Regions from separate parts of the Homo sapiens genome. Here region 2 is linked to region 1. The links are contacts of gene promoters, found by promoter capture Hi-C in human tissues and cell types (Jung and others, 2019). All regions are on one chromosome and are shown on one strand. The core of a region is centred on a gene start or on the middle of the fragment in contact, and the rest is flanking DNA. Distances in the headings are between cores, read along the strand shown.

What was found. The method cuts DNA at HindIII sites, captures the fragments that hold promoters and counts their contacts. A contact is called where the count stands out against the background at its distance.
Region 2: a fragment that was not itself captured here is called in contact with the fragment with the promoter of CNTNAP4 in region 1 in 2 of the 25 tissues and cell types used here (dorsolateral prefrontal cortex and mesenchymal stem cells).

What each region holds. Positions count from the first base shown.
Region 1 is chr16:76,276,096-76,278,795 of GRCh38, reverse strand. CNTNAP4 (contactin associated protein family member 4) reads right to left here and starts at 1,395. Exons shown (of 24, transcript NM_033401.5): 1 at 1,049-1,395. The coding sequence starts at 1,133. The HindIII fragment of the contact is 9,673 bases long and covers 1-2,700 here.
Region 2 is chr16:76,480,834-76,483,644 of GRCh38, reverse strand. The region is part of intron 12 of CNTNAP4 (contactin associated protein family member 4); the gene reads right to left. Among named protein-coding and RNA genes, the nearest start is that of LINC02125, 150 kb to the left of the region's middle. The HindIII fragment of the contact is 4,754 bases long and covers 1-2,811 here.

The DNA of each region.
Region 1 (2,700 bases), core at 146-2,645:
CCATAGCAAATGTCTGATTACTGCCTCTGTTCCCCAAATCTAAGCCTGATGATACAGCAGCAACATAAATTCCTGGACAGGCCTCATAGCCAGTTCTTGGAAAGCAAATGAGCTTTTCCTTTAAAATCCAAGAAAAAATAAAAAGTTGTATTTGCCAAGCTTGTTTGTCATTAATCAGGAGGGGAAAATTCTCCCATTTAGAGAATTTAAGCCAAAGATAACTTTTAAAACTTTTTCTATCTCTAATAAAGAGTGGATGAAGGGAGTCTGCCAAATTATTATGGATGATATCTAAATTATAAATAAGATTTCAATCTTCCCTAAATAGGTTCTATTTCATCAGAACATTCAATTACAAATTTATGCAGTTAAGCATTCAACCACAAAGGAATCCTACTTTTGAAAGACCACCTGACTGGTTTTCCTTTAAGCGAAATGTAGGAAGAGGCTCCTCTTTCCGGAGAGCGCTAAGTCTCATTCTCTTAGCAGCGAGGGCACAGCTCTTAATACTGAGACTCGCCTCAGCCAGTGCTGGTGCTCCTGAAGCCTGCAGTACATTTCAGTTATTAGCCTGCATTATTTTAAAGATGCAGGCAGCTACTGGTCTGCCCAATTGCAAACTTCAGAAATCTAAGCCAATGCAGCATAATGTAAAGTCTGCCAGTTGTTTTCCTCTTAGACATAATTCCAATAAAATTCAGTAGTTCTTTAAAAAAGAAGAAATGAAGATATTCACAGGCTATTCCCCCGATAAGATGCTAATTTCATGTTTTACTAGAACTTGGGCATTCTCAATGAATACTCAAAGACCAGAGGGTAAGATTCTGCGAGTAGACAAAAAGAGAAATGACACTTTGCCTATTTTGACCAGACCAAGAGGAGAGACAAGTGTTAACCGGTCACATTGGCAAGATTTTTAAGTGATGCTTGGTTTACAGCAATACGCTTTGCAGCAATCCCAGCTGCAAATAATCATCATCAAACCAACAGAATCAAAGTTTTGCAGAGAGCCCCCCAGCAAGTTTTAAATCATTTGCTGTATACTTACAGGAATTCCCAGCTTCGACTCTGTTCCAATTTTGAGTAGATAACAGAAGTAGCGTCTTGAGGACAGCTCCCGTGACAGATCCCATGTTCACATTTATTGGGCTCCCCCAAAAGATCTTGAGAGGCTCTCAGAGCGCTCCAGTCCTCTTCTCAGTAGCTCTGCCAGCTCTGTCTGGGTCTTCAGCCCCTCTAGGTCTCTGTCTCTCCCCCTCCCTTCCTCCTCACCTCCCTCCGTCTTTTCTTCTTCCCTCCTCCCTCTCTTCTCTCTCCCTCTCTCTCTCCCCGTCTCTGTCTCTCTCTTTTCTCTCTCTCTCTCACACACACCTCCCTGACTCCTCACTGAAAAGCACTCAGCATCTTTCCTAACAAGCATCCACACCGCCGAGGCCACGCCCACTCCTCGCAGCAGCGGTCCCACAAATTGGCAGCAGCATCCTTCCTTCCAAACACACAACAGCGCTCGAGCTCCGCTGCACCCAGAGGCGCGGCCTCCCGTTCGTGGGCCTCCTTGGGGCTCCCTCCCTTCTCTTCTATTTTCCAATAATCCTTAACCCTTTTCTCCCAGCTGGAGGTGTGAGTGGGGGAAGGGACAAGGCGGTGGAGCCTTCTGATTTTCTGGAGGTCTTGCATTTGCAAGAGCCAGAAAACACACTGAGCCATTCCTGATTATCCGGGAGTGCATCCAGGTAAAATTGCATTATGTTTCAAAACAAAAGCATAAAATAAGACAGAAATAACTAAGCAGCATTGGGAAATTGTAGCTAAAACCGTCCTCAGGGAAAATACTTGCTGTTGTTTTTCTCTGTTTCTATAAAACTGTACTCTTCAGCGAGGGTGCCAGGATTTTATTATGGAAATTCCCCACATGGGAACAGACATTCCTGCTTAGCAGATATTTAAAATCATCTGGTAGTAGTCTGCAAGAAATTAACATTTCTTATTTTAATGCTTCAGGTGTATAAATCCACAAATGAAATGCTTTGGCTAGATTTATGTTGATGAATGCATCATGCTGTGAATATGAAGTACCATTCTATAATCAAAATTTTTAATAACATTTCCAAAAAGGCCCAAAGTAGGAAATGAGGGAATACTGAAGAAAGGGACCTCCACCACCACCACATACACACATGCATACACATTCACACAAACACTGAACAATGTGACGATGTAATTCAGGTGACTTAAAGGAGAGAGGAGTAAAGTTGAATTTGGAAGATCAATGATTAAAGAAAAATTACTCTTTGAATGGCTGGTCCATGGATACAACTGTTTCTTGAATGGAATTTTAAAATGTCTAAATAATGGAGTTACTATCACATAACAAGAAGCATGTCACATGGTTCATAGCAGATAAATAATCTATTTAAAATAAATGTCAAGATGTTTTACTGATAATGTGCTAGATTTTATACAAATGGAAATCCTGGAGTTCTTAAGTGCCTCTTGGTAATCACAAATTGGAAGAAACATAAGCCTTTAACACCACTTTCTTATGGAATAATGAGAGTGGGTTTGTCAAAGATCAGATAGGTTTGTCAAAGAGTGAGAAAATGACAGAAATACCCGTAAGAACTAAACATGCTTGTTTAGCTCATGCCTGCAAACAAAGCAGAATGCATCTTTTTTCTTTTCCTGTTTTACAAGAGAAAA
Region 2 (2,811 bases), core at 72-2,571, 200 kb before region 1:
TGTTTAAAACGCCCCCTACTCCCAGAAATGTTGTCGAGTGCTCCTAAGCACAGAAGGTTGCACGCACTGAGCCCTAGAAAGAAAACACGTATGTTAGATAAGCTTTGCTCAGGCGTGAGCTACAGTGCTCTTGGCCATGAGCTCAATGTTAATGAATCAACAGTATGTATTAAATAAGGTGTCTTTAACCTGAAACACACATAAAACAAGATTATGTATTGATTGGTGAATGAGACCGTTGTGACCAGAGGCTTGCAAGAAACTAATTGTACTGTGATTCCCCCAGGAGTAATTTGTTCAGTGTTTTCCAATCCAGTGTTCTTGGTTACTTTACGGAACATAACGACTGCAAACAATGAGAATGGATGTGTGTGTGTGTGTGTGTGTGTGTGTGTGTGTGTGTGTGTGTGTGTTTCTTAAAACTTCAAAGACTAGAGATATTTATCAACCTATCGCTGTCTAATTTCAGAATGAAACTTCCTATAACATGTGTATGTGTATAGATCCGGATGCATTTATGGGAACATAGAATTTACAGGTTTGCAGTGGTGGATTGTTACATAAATCTCACTCACAATCCAACCTATCCAAGCTGGAAAAAAAATAATAAAACATTTTGGCACTGGAATTCATATCTTACACTTGTAAAGTCTTCTCTCTTTTTTTCTCTGTAAAGTCCTCTCACATTTGTTATGTTTAATTCTCGCATACCAGAGTTGCCAGTGCATACTGAAGTTTGAGAACCATGAAGTCTAAAACAGTGATTCCCAAACCTAAGTACACATAAGAATCATTTGGGAAGATCCATGATGATATTATTTCCATTGGCCCAACTCAGTGGTTGCACTGGATGAGAAGCACCTGCAGTGCTGTCTGGGCATTTGTACTGCACAGGCGGGAGAGCTTCATTGAGAAGACACATATGCAGGAACACCATTTGTTTGGGCTGTTTTGGTGTATGAGGCAATGTCCTCAATGGTTGTGAGACAGATAGAAGCTACCAAGTTGTGTTAAATGAAAAACCTTTGAAGATACTAATTTATAGCAATTTCTGCCAAAATATGTGTTGGCACAGAGTTTGCCACCACCTGCAGTTTTTAGAACTAAACATTCATTAGTATAAAGAAGCGGTTGCTCCCATATTCAAATGCCTCCTCAGAATCTTGTTTGAACATGGAAAAACAGACATCTCAAACTAAAAAAAAAAAAAAATTGTGTAAAACAGAGCTTATGATCTTTCACCTTAAACCTTTTCTGATCACATCTTAAATAATGACAATTCAAACACTCAATTACTCAGGGCAAAAACTGTGTCGTTATTTTTGGCTTTTTGTTTTCTCACACCTCATAGCTATGCAAAGAGAAAAATCTAACACCTTTCCTCCATCTACAGTGCTATTATCTTGTACAATCAGTCCTGGATTTTTGCATTACTTGAAATGGTCTCCCAATACAATTAAGATACTGAAATTGTATCTTATAAAGTACAATATGCATAGTCTCATCACTCTTTTCCACCCATGCTCCTGAAGAAGCATTCCCTAACCCAGGAGCAGTTGCAATCCAACTAAAGGAAGTCAGATTGCATCCCACCGTTTCTTAAAACTACAGTATAATAAAAATTAAAAAAAAAAATAAAAAAATAAACTCCTCAGTGTCTTCTCATCTCATTTCAGAGTAAAAAACCAAAGGTCTTACAACATTGTCATGAAGCCCATACTCTTCCCCTCCCCACCCAACTTGCCTCTCTCCTCTCTTCCTACGCCCCACTTACTCACCATACTCCCGCTATCCTAGGTTTGTTGCTGTTTTCTGAACACACCTGGTAAGTAAGATCATCTGTCTCAGAACTTGGTACTTTCTGTTTCCTCTGCCCGAAAGATATGTTCTTCAATTTTAAGTACCAAATCTCCCCTTGCAACACCCTCTGCCTCAATGTATAATAATTTTGCCCTTTTCCTTTGGTTTTGCTCCATAAAATATTGACTTCTAACACTGTTCATTGTAACTTTCAGCAAATGACAAGGTTCTACATCTACAATGATACACTCCATACTAGCCCCGGGAGGCTATTAAGCAGTTAAAATGCAGCCAGGGAGACTGACAAAGTAAACTTAAAAAAAGAAAAATAGAGATGGGGTCTCACTATGTTGCCCAGCCTGGTCTCGAACTCCTGGGCTCAAATTATGCCCCCGCCCTGGCTTCCCAAAGTGCTGGGATTACAGGTGTGAGCCACTGCACCCGGCTGTTATTTAATCCTATTTTAGTTAAATTTTTAAATTTAAGTTTAAATTTTTAAAATGCAGTCATTTTGTTTTGTAATTAATTTTAATTAAATTAGAATTCAAATAGGCACTTGCTAGTGGCTACCATGTTGGACAGCACAGTTCATCTAGAATCTATTTTGTGTGTGTGTGTTTGATGAGGAGGAGATCAATACTCCTTTTACTGACATTTAAGTACAAATTCCACCAGCACTACTGGTTGAAAAGACCATCTTTCCTTCATTACATATCAATGCCACCTTGGCAATAAATCAATTATCCATATATGAGTGAGTCTGTTTATAAATTCTCTATTTTGTTTTTATTGGTTTATTTGTTTATCTTTGTGACAGCTATATACGGCTTTACGTAGCCAATCAGTATAATGCCTATATCCAGTAGAGCTGAATCCTTCAAATTTGTTCTTCAAGACTCACTGACTTGGTTCTTCTTGCCTCTGTGTATTTACTCATAATTTTAGAATATGCTTGTTGATTTTCACCAAAATAATCACACCAACCTACAAACAAACACCCTGCTTGAGTTT